Linked DNA regions of Homo sapiens: region 1 is linked to region 2. Evidence: promoter capture Hi-C in 16 types of primary human blood cells and fetal thymus (Javierre and others, 2016). All regions are on one chromosome and are shown on one strand. The core of a region is centred on a gene start or on the middle of the fragment in contact, and the rest is flanking DNA. Distances in the headings are between cores, read along the strand shown.

Evidence for each region. Contacts are between HindIII fragments. The CHiCAGO score rates a contact against its expected background, and 5 or more counts as called.
Region 1: a fragment that was not itself captured here is called in contact with the fragment with the promoter of LCA5 in region 2 in 4 of 17 cell types (monocytes, M1 macrophages, M0 macrophages and 1 more); the score reaches 8.7 in monocytes.

The regions. Positions count from the first base shown.
Region 1 is chr6:78,908,222-78,913,675 of GRCh38, forward strand. It overlaps a transcript of IRAK1BP1 not described here. Among named protein-coding and RNA genes, the nearest start is that of IRAK1BP1, 43 kb to the left of the region's middle. The HindIII fragment of the contact is 2,596 bases long and covers 1,155-3,750 here.
Region 2 is chr6:79,533,734-79,539,436 of GRCh38, forward strand. LCA5 (lebercilin LCA5) reads right to left here and starts at 3,697. Exons shown (of 8, transcript NM_001122769.3): 1 at 3,432-3,697. It also overlaps a transcript of SH3BGRL2 not described here. RefSeq lists enhancers at 3,593-4,166, 4,161-4,210, 4,741-5,314. The HindIII fragment of the contact is 3,782 bases long and covers 874-4,655 here.

The sequences.
Region 1 (5,454 bases), core at 1,203-3,702, 630 kb before region 2:
TTTGTATTTTTAGTAGAGATGGGGTTTCACCATATTGGTCAGGATGGTCTTGAACTCCTAACCTCGTGATCCACCCGCCTCAGCATCCCAAAGTGCTGGGATTAAGGCGTGAGCCACCACACTCGGCCATTATTTTTTATTTTTTTAGAGCAGGGTCACACTCTGTTGCCCAGGCTGGAATGCAGTGGTGCCATCATAGCTCACTGTAACCTTGAACACCAGACTCAAGTGATCTTCCTGTCTCAGCCTCTTGAGTAGCTAAGACTCAACCAACACACCTGGCTAATTTTCCTATTTTTAGTAGAGATGAGGTCTCACTATGTTGCCCAGGCTGGTCTCAAACTCCTGGCCTCAGCTTATCCTCCCACCATGGCCTCCCAAAGTGCTAGGATTACAGGTGTAAGCCACCAGACTCAGCCAAGATGGCACTCATTGGTCAGTGTTCAATAGGTGCCTACATATTGCTAGCGTGTGCACATCTACCAGAAGAACTTCTGGGTTTAGACACATAATGGGGTGGAAAATCAATGTGCAATATTTTTTTAAGCCACCCTCAGCTGACTCTTCACCAACAGTAGTCTAATAGGTAGAAGATGGTGAGTCATCATCTGCCTTTCAAGTTCTTTCCCAACAACAGGTTTATTTCTTGATGTATGTGCAGTCCTAGAGCTGAAGGAGATAGATAGGATCAATTCTGGGCCCACCTTCTGTCTAATCTCAAACCTCTTCTACAGCATCCTTGATGATTTGTCAGCCAGCCTTTGGCATTAGAACGTTGATCAGAAACTGTGAGGAGTAATAGCATGAAAGGCCAGTCTTGGGACTACAGAGAAAATATGAAGTGATAAGAGGGAAAAGTGTATACTGAGAAGGAAAACTAATGATTTAAGATGGCGAAGCAAGCAAATACAGATGATCCTAACTTACGATAGTTCAATTTATGATTTTTCAACTTTATGGTGGTGCAAAAGCCATACACATTCAGTATATACCTCCACTTATGGCAGGAATATGTCCAGACAAGCCCATTATAAGTTGAAAATATCCTAAGTCAAAAACACACTTCTGACTTAGCAATATTTTCAATTTACATTGAGTTTATCCAGACATAATCTCATGGTGAATCAAGGAGCAGTTGTATCAGATTGGCCTGAAGCTTAGCACAGCCTCCTTCTCTTTCCCTGAAATGTAAAGATTTTAACCTAGCTTCTCTCAGCAATTTTCATAAAGTACTTCAACGTTCCCCTGAATGAAAACATAATTAAAGAGACATGTATTTGTATGCTCTTTTCACTTCCTGATTCCAAGCCGAAAAGCTGGGCTATTTAAGGGCATGACAAATGCAGAATTGCACAACTCTAAATCTGAACAGCACTGCTGGGTCCCCACATTTCACTAGGAGAAGGGCCTTTAATTTGCTCCAGCAACAATAAAAAGTGGTACATAGGCTAAGATGAAGTCCAGATGCCAAGGGAACCTATGAATTACTTTAAGACACATGGGAACCAATTACAATGTGTGGAGTTTATTTGGATCTTGATTCAAACACGCTAAATCAACAAATATTTATAGCAGGAGACATTTGGAAATTTGAATACAGACCAGATGTTTGATGTTATTTCTTTTCTTTTTTTGCTCACTCTCAGCAGAATCAGTGATGTTATTTCTATATGTTGGATATTTTTCATAATTTTTTAATGGCATCTTTTCATTACAGTATTCTGTTTCCCACAAAAATACAGGAAAAGGGTGGAAGGGAAACAATGAAAAAGTTCAGGTGGGTCACAAACATGGACACAAGGAGTCTGAAAGGCAGGCCTTGACATTTGTCTGAATAATACTAACGATGACCCTTCGGAGTTTCACGGGAGAGGAGGGTTGCCAGACTGTAATGGAGAGAAACTGGACTTAGTTGCTAATTAGGATGATGGTGCAAGGTCCATGACAGGGGATGAGGGAATGCCTGCTCGGGGAGGGGAAAAGGGGACTGGACGGAGGGCACGGCAGGATGGCCTAGGGAGGACGGGCGAGGGCCTATCAGTTACAAGAGGAAGGAGAAAGAGGATACTGGTTTTCCTCTGCATAAAAAACGCGATGGATTCTCAAGAATTTATTGAAAGTCTGTGTGTCCACCATAGTCCAGGATATTTTGGAATATTCAAGGGAAATACAAATCCAAGAATTTAGCTCAGGAATCAGCATCAGAACAGAATCCCCGAAGAGTAAACTATTCATGGAAAACAGTAGACTGATAACATTTGAAAAACTGATTTCCCATAGAAACAATAGTTACTGTTTGACGAATTATACAACGTAGACCTAGGTCGTGCGATAGCTACAAAATACCTAAGGAAATGGACTAGGTCGTAACAAGAAAAAGTGATATCAAGCCCGGGCAGAAGGGCGCATTCTCGGCGCGGAGGGCGGAGCCTTTCCTGGAGTGGCGGCGGATGACCCGGGCTCCCGCTCCTCACCTCGGCGTGGGGCGCAGGCGGCGGCCGCAAGGACCGCGGATGCTTGAATCGCGCTTCTCGCCGGCTGGGACTGCCCCAGACACGCACACCCTCCCGACCTCCGCCCTGTCGCAGTTCCAGGGCGCTCCGCGCTGTCATGATTGCTGGGTGCGCGCTCCGTGCTGGGACAGCCGCGCACCAACAGCGGAGGGCGTTAGCACCCCAAGACGCTGCTGCAGGGGTCTGAACCGCTCCTTGGCCTACTGGCACCGGGTCCTGGACGAAATCTACCGCGGTCCAACTGAGCTTTATCTTGTGCGGTGACGCCCATGCCTAGGTCTTGACACTTCCCTCCTATGCCCTTTATTGCCAAGGGTCGGGATGGCCTTCGTGTCCTCTGCAGCCTCCGCCTTCCTTCTGCTGCCAGCAGCTGTAGATTTTACCTCTTTCCCCTAACTTCCTCTCAGGCTCCTACTCCATTCCTATCGCGACTGCTTGAGACCGGGCCACCTCCCCCGCAAATTACCTACTCCAGTGTCAAAATCAGGTCAGGGCAAATCCATGCCAGAACGCAGTGACCTAACTTAAATGCGACTCTGATTGCGTTCTTCCCAGCTTAGAACTTTTGGTGTCTCCTGATGGTCAAAGGGACCGAGGTCAACCTCCTCTGCCCCTTTCAAGGCACCTCAAGATCCGATCCCTTTATATTCCCCAGTCTTGATCCTTCTCTCCTGCTCCAGGGGAATGAAACACAATCCCACATCTGGGATGTTACTCATCCCCATTGCCTCACCAGTTTTTCTGGATTTTATTTTATTGTGCAAAAACATCAATAAAATGAAATTATCCAGTTTCTCTGGATGATTTACTCGCCTTTAAGTTGAAAACTGATAACATCATATCCTGCAGGACTGCCACCTCAGCTGAATTAGATGACCCTTTTGTATCTTACAGCAGCTGCATGTTTCTCTCCAATGTAGTCAAGATCACTACTGTAGCTATTTAGTTACCTATTTATCTCACTTCATTCCCAGCAATTTATTATCTGAGTACTCTGTACCGGGCACTGGGTTAAGTAGATGTTATGAATACTGTACTACCATGTGAAGTAGCTTCTGTTACCCTCGTCATTTACAAGCGAGCATATAGAGGCTAAGAGAGTTTAATCTGTCAATCTACATGGCCAGGATGCAGAGAACTCAGACAGGCACCCTTATTGTTGTTGTTGGTTTTTGTCTCTGTACCTAGTACAGTGACTGGGACATAGCAGGTGTTCACTAAGTGTGAAATATATGGAAGCTTTGTTTTGTTTTGTTTTTTGATCCTCAACACCACTCCAGAGGGCAGGCCATACAGGAATCATACTTGCCTTTTTTAGATATGCAAAGAGATCCAGAAAATTGACTTGGCAATTCATAAAGACCAGGGACATGTGACTCCTCTCATGCTTTTTTCACCATTATAGCTTTTTCTGGGACAACTTCCCAGAAGAGGATTTCCTTTTTATTTTTCCTGGAAAAGTTTGATGATAAGAGATTCGTTTTTACATCTGATCAGATTTAGACTCTCTATAGTGCCAGAATAGAGAGCAAAGAGGGACAAGAGTAGGTTCTGCTGACAAAAGAAAGTGGAAGGGGTAGCAAACCCACTTCACAACATCATTATTTTGATGTGTAGCATCAAAAAAATTGCTTGAGTTTCTGTAGCAATTGCTATATAAGTACAATAATGTATCTTGAAGTCATTCTAGGCCATCTGGAATATTATTCCTGGTGGTACCAAGCCACCAGCTGAAGAGTTTTAAGTAATAACATGATCAGAATTGGATTTGCTGTATACACACATAAATGTGTATACACACATACACACCACCACCACCACCAGCAACAGTGCAGGGAGTGAGCTGCAGTGATACAAAGGAACTACAGGAAATGTTGTCAATAACAGGTTTGTTCCTAATAGCAAAAGGTGGAAACAACCACCATGTCTACTGGCAACAGAATGGTTAGATTGTGATGTTTTCACACAATAAATATTATATAGCAATAAAAATGAATGAATTTTACCTTATGTAAAAACGTGAATAAATCTTTGAAATATTACAAATTATTATCGTATGAAGAGACAAAGAATATGCCACCAGAAATGTGGAAAAAAATATATTAGCACCCAGGCTCTTGATTTGTTAAAGAGAAATGTACTATCCATGTTTACACTTATATACAATATCTGCAATTTATTAAATTTATTACATAAATATTTGAATGTTTATAATTCATAAGGGATCTATAAGCATATATATGTGGGTGTGTATGTGTGTGTGTCATGGTCTAAAATGGACTGCAAAATCATGATTGATTCCATAAAAGTATAAGTCATGGCCGGGTGCGGTAGCTCACGCCTGTAATCCCAGCACTTTGGGAGGCCAAAGCAGGCGGATCATTAGGTCAGGAGATCGAGACCATCCTGGCTAACACGGTGAAACCCCATCTCTACTAAAAATAAAAAAAATTAGCCAGGCGTGGTGGCATGCACCTGTAGTCCCAGCTACTCGGGAGGCTGAGGCAGGAGAATCCCTTGAACCCTGGAGGCTGAAGTTGTGGTGAGCTGAGATCACACCACTGCACTCCAGCCTGGGCAACAGAGCAAGACTCTGTTTCAAAAAAAAAAAAGTACAAGTCATTACTGGGGCCGGGCGCAGTGGCTCACGCCTGTAATCCCAACATTTTGGGAGGCCGAGGCAGGTGGATCACTTGAGGTCAGGAGTTCAAAACCAGACTGGCCAATGCGGTGAAACCCCATCTGTACTAAAAATATAAAAATTAGCTGCGCATAGTGGCACACACCTGTAATCCCAGCTACTTGGGTGGCTGAGGCACAATAATCACCTGAACCCAGGAGCCAGAGGTTGCAGTGAGCCAAGATTACACACTGTACTCCAGCCTAGGTGATAGAGCGAGACTCTGTCTCAAAAAAAAAGTCATTGCTGAGAAGATGACTG
Region 2 (5,703 bases), core at 2,447-4,946:
CCATTGTATATAAATATCATAATGATATCTAATTCGTCTGACTCTAAGAAACCATCTTAGTTTTAAGAAAAAAAACTGTAAAATCAACAAACCGTTAATTTCCTGACATATCCCTGTGCTCAGCTTCTTTAGATAAAACATTGCTGACTGGCTACCTTTGCTACCAGCAAAAGAGTTCACAAAACAGACAACTAGGCAAATAAAATGTAAATAAACTTCAGTGAGAAAGATATAAATAAGGACATTTCTCCTCCCCGCAAAAAAGATGAGATAAAAGTAAAAACCATATTGCTACATTTGGTTTTTCTCCTTTGTGGAAGAGGAGCAGTTACACTGTAACTGCTCCTCTTCCACAAAGGAGAAATGAAGTAAAGTGTTCCACTTCTTCTAATAACATGTCCCCACGTATTTATAAGCATTTTCCTTATTATACTACTTATCTACATAATCTTGCTTAAAAATCAAACTATTTTTATTTAAAAATAAAACAAAAAATAAAGTTTGGATTTAAAGTATGATCAAATATGATCAATCAGATCACAGTAAATGCTACATTTGAAATGTAAGACATAATCAGCTTATTTTAAACATTTTAAACAATGGATCAAATTAAAACATCTTAAGTACAGTACATATTCCCAAAGTTTAGTCAGTCAAATGAAAACATCCTAAGATGTTCATTCATTCATTTATTCATTTATAAGACATTTACTGAACACCTATGAAATGTCAGGCGCTAGATTATAGATGGAGCTGAAGATACAAAAATGAGTAAAATACAACTGATCCTTTACCGTTAAGTAATTCCCAACCAAGAGGAAAAAAAAATAATGCGACAGTCTATAAGTACTAATGATAAAAGGAAGCAGAGAAAGCTTAGTAAACTCAGAACTAAGATTAGAGGACAGAGGGAGTTTGAGAAGGTTTCTAGAGGAGATAATGCCTAAATTGAGTCTTACGGTATTAGCAGAGGTTAAGCACAATTATAATTTCATGGATGTGTGTGTTTGAAAAGTGGGGGGGTAAATGAGGTTAGAAAAAGAAGACAGTGAAGTACGACCCTGTCTCAATAAGAGGATGCAGCATTTGCAAAAGTAAAAGGCATTAGATAAGCATGGCATATCACCAAACTGCAAATACTTTACAACTGTGCTGTCCAATACAGTGGCTCCTGAGCACCTCAAATGTAGCTATTCAGAATTGGCATATGCGGCAAGTGTAAAATACATGTGGAATTTTGAAAACTTAGTACATAAAACAGACCATAAAATAGCTCTTCTATAATCTTTCTTACATTGACATATGCTAAAATAATATTCTGGATATATGTGACTTAAAAATACATTAAAATTTCACCTGTATTTTATTGTGTGTCTACTGAAAAAAATGGATATAGCTCACATTCTATTTCAAATGGACAATGCTAGTTTAAAAGGATGGCACTGGCTGGGGAGTAGTGCTAAAGTAATAATAAGTGGGACTGGATCGGGTGGAAGATAATATCACAAGAAGAATCTCTATGTCATTAATAAGTTGGTTGGAAACCAAGGCTCTTCAGTAGGGTTAATATTATCAGATCTGACATTTGCAAGGATCCATCTCCAATCTAAGAATTGGAGGGCAGGAAAGCTGGAGGAAGAATATCAATTGGTCTCGATAATCACTGACAGACAGTGTTTTGAAAGTAGTATAACTAGAGATACAGAGTACGGAACTGATTCCAGAAATGTTTTTCAAGTAAGATAAACTACACTTGGTGACAGATTAAATATGAAGTCTGAGAATAGAGAAGAACTTGAGTAAATTCCAAAGTTTTGGGCTTGCAAAATTAGGAGAATGTGGTATTCAAGCAGGACAGCTTTGGCAGGGAAAGGTGATGGGTTCAATATTGGACATACTGAGTTTGGGATGCCTATGGATAGGAAATTTATGTGGAAATACCAAAAATTAGCTACAAAAGTTTGACAGTAACTCAAAAGTTCCAGATCAGAAATAAAAAATTGGGAGAGTGTTAATAAAACACAAATAGTGTAAGCCAAAGGAGAGGAAGAACACAGCCAAGAACACAGAGTAAAAAATAGAAGACGGAAGACTGAAGACTGGATTATTGGGAAAAACAATAATGAAATATGGTGGGCCGAGGAAGAAGATCCCACAAAGGAGTTGAAGAATGACAGGCAGATGAAGAACCCAAGAGAAGGGTAGCATCTTTATTTAATGGGCTTCCATTGTGTCCTACAGAATTATAGTTCCACAATATGTGTAACGGAAGAGATGTGACTCACAAAAGAAGAAAAATCTCTTTTCCAAAGTCACAAACTACTTTTTGATATTTAAAATGATACTTTGTCAACTTAGAGAATCAAAACAAACTATTATTTCCTATAACTTATTTGGATAAACATACTAGCTAACATGGGAAATCACAAAGTGAAATATTTAAAATGGTAATATAGAATTTAAATGTGGAACAACTGGAAAAAAACATAGATTAAAATAACCATGCAAAAGAAAGAGGGAATGAGTAAAGAACTGGAAACATCGGTTTTACCATTCTAAAACACATATAGCCACTCCCTCTGCCAAAAACTAAATGATGACTTCTGATTGCAAAGATATCTCTAATGCAAGTTCTTAACGTGAAGATAAAGGAGGGGAATAAATATGTATGTGCCCAAGTATACTTTCCAAAGAACAAAGTGAACAAAAAAGGGGTTTATATCAGATGAACTGGACCAGGGCTCTTCACTGTTAAACACTATCCCACGGTCTATCTAACGTAAACATCACGTATCTGAGTACCGACTCCAACTCGAGTATGCCAAAAAGGCACTTTCTTTTTTCTTTTATTTCTAACCATCTTTACTCCTCTCATCCCATCCCTGAAGGATGTATAGAAGTATCACAGCCTGGACAAGTACGGCTTTCCACTCTAACCACAGTTTTAATAATAACACATCTATTATTATCCGAGAGCTACCAAAGCCTCCTTTTCCGTCTTGGCCCTTGGCCCTGCCCCTCCTCTCTAGTCTTGAGTCTCCACGGGCCTCCGGGGTTTTTGTTTTGTTTGTTTTAATAACAACCACTTCTCTAGATCCGCTTGCTCCCTTTCTTCTCTTCTCGGTCCCAGGAAGTAAATACCCTTTCCCAGCTCCTCTCCTCCTAACTTCCCAGTCCCCCCAGTGCCGGTCAACCTCCCTTCCTCGGGACCCTCTCAGAAGCCGAGCTCTTTACTCATTTTCCTAGGTCTTCCTTCTCCTCGCGGTCCCTACATCCTCCCCCATCCCTAATCCCTTCATCTTCCCTGCTTTAAGAACCACCCGCAGGCCCCCATCCACGAACGCCCCTTCACTAGCTACCAGACGCTTCAACCCAGCCTCACCTCGCACCTCCACCTCCCCCGCCGTCTCCACGCCCACTTCAAAGCCCACCTCCAACCCGCAGGCTCTTCAGCAGAGCCGATGCGGCGTCCCGCCTCCTTGCCTTCCCTCTTAGGACCAAACTCCCAGCTGGGGCCTCGGCGTCTGACCGCCAAAGAGCGGGTGCCTGGTTCCTGCGGAGGCTGCCGGGCGGGTGCCGAGGTTGCCGAGATGCGGGAGGTTTGAACACAAGGATGGGACAGAGGCGAGGATCGGGGCTCCTGGGTGGCAGCGGCGGTAACCTGGGCTCCAGGGTAACGGAGGCGGAGGCCTAGACTGCACTACGAAGAGACCGCAGCCAATCATGATGACTCTACCCGAGCTCCCATTGGCTTCTGTCTCCAGACGGCCCTTTTTATTGGCTTCAGTGGAACTGGAAGGCGGGACGGCGAGTGCGGGAGAAGGTCTCCATTGGCCGACCGCTCTAGCTGTAGCGGAGACCCCCAAGTAGGGAAATTGGGGCAAAACGCGGAGCGCTCCAGGCTCCTACGGGCTGTGCGGTGCCAGGGCTCGACTGCTGAGCGTCGTGGGCTCCGAGAGGGACGCGGGCGGAGGGCAAAGTGGGTTCATGATATGAATTGTAAAATTGGCGACTGCGTAATGTAAAACACTTAACAATTGCTTAGATTTCCTTTGGGAAATAACTTGCTTTTAAATTGTAAACAAATTACAAACAAACTGCTAGTGCTTCTGGATCTTCTTACCGAAATGGCTGATTCAGGAGGATGCGGGGTGAGTGCACTATTGTTCCTGCCTCGAGATCCTGGCTGTGAATCACCAACGAGCCGTGAGTTTGGCTTGAAAGTGATTTTTAGGTTTTGGAACGGGTTTGGGGTGGAATGGCATCTGAAATATTTGCACACAAGTTTTTTTTTTTTTTTTTTTTTTTTTTTTTTTTTTTTAAGGAACGTTTTGAGGAGCATGTCAGCCTATTGAGCGCTGATGTGTGACATATTTTCTCTTTTAGAAATGGCATTAATTGCGGGAGACAGGGAAGGTAAAAAAAAATCCTCTTTCGTGAGGGCTTTAAACTGCTCCGAGCCATCTGATTATCAAGGTGGTTTAACACTACTCTGGTGTTCTCACTATTGTTAATTTCTCACTGGCCTTTTTACCACCATTCTGTAGAGAATCTAATATTTGAAGGCAAATGCGTTTAATGAATCTTCTAACCATGAAGATTGGTAATTCCTGCTTCTCGCTCAACCTCGTTTTTCCACCTTTGCACTGTTTCAAAGCTTTCATTTTATCCTGTCAATACATTTTACTTCAAGTTACAGACTAACCCACCCAAACAATATTGTGATTAAATGTAATTTTCTGTATGCGAAATACATCTGTACAAGATGGCAGTCATCTGTTAGTGAAAATAAGATGAGTAATCCCTAAATTGCACGGAATTACTTTTCATCAATTCTTTAATCTGTCTCTGCTGACACTGTTAAAATAGCTCACTCGTTATTATGGACTCTGTTAGAATTAACATGTAAATGTATGGGTGGATTACTTATAAAGGAAGTTGCTAGGAAGAATCAGAAAACATACCGTATTTACGTGGACAAATGTCTGTCACAGGAGCGTCAGATCAGGATTGCTGAAGGAGAGCTGAGAATGAAACCACCATTTATTCAGCACTCAGAATGCTCCAGGCAGTGTAATCTCATTCCATCTTCATTCATGACTCCAGACAGGTATTGTTATTCATTGTTTATACTTGAGAAAGCAGATTCAGAGAAGTTAAAGTATCTACCACAAGGTACGAAAGTAGTAAGTAGTAATGCCAGAGTACAAGCCTAGGTCTGCTTCCAAATTTCGTGGTTTCGGATTTAGTGCCTTCATTGTGTTTCACCTACAGGTTAAGAAGTTGTTGGTAAGCAAGAAAATATTTAAGACGCTGGGAGAATCCAAAAAATTGTCTAGTTGTGTGTAACATAGTCTCAGGATTCTTACAGTGTGCAATTTTATTCACCCCCTCATATTCAAAATAACAGTATCAGTTTGACCTTGAAAAAAGACCAAAAAATGTATAAATTTACAGAAGTAAAAACTAGTTTATTGAATTACCATTTTAAAAGGTTACCCCAAAATATGAGAAAGCAGTTTTAAAAGTTTTATGACATTACATGGTTTTATATATTATTTTTGATAGGGCTAGAATTTTCTAAGATACCATTTGACATTTTATTTCAGTACCACACAGGATTCTGCTTTTCAGAAATAAAGGAAACAAAGTTATCAAAACCACATTTATATTTCTGCCACTTGAAATTATAGTTAACAGAAA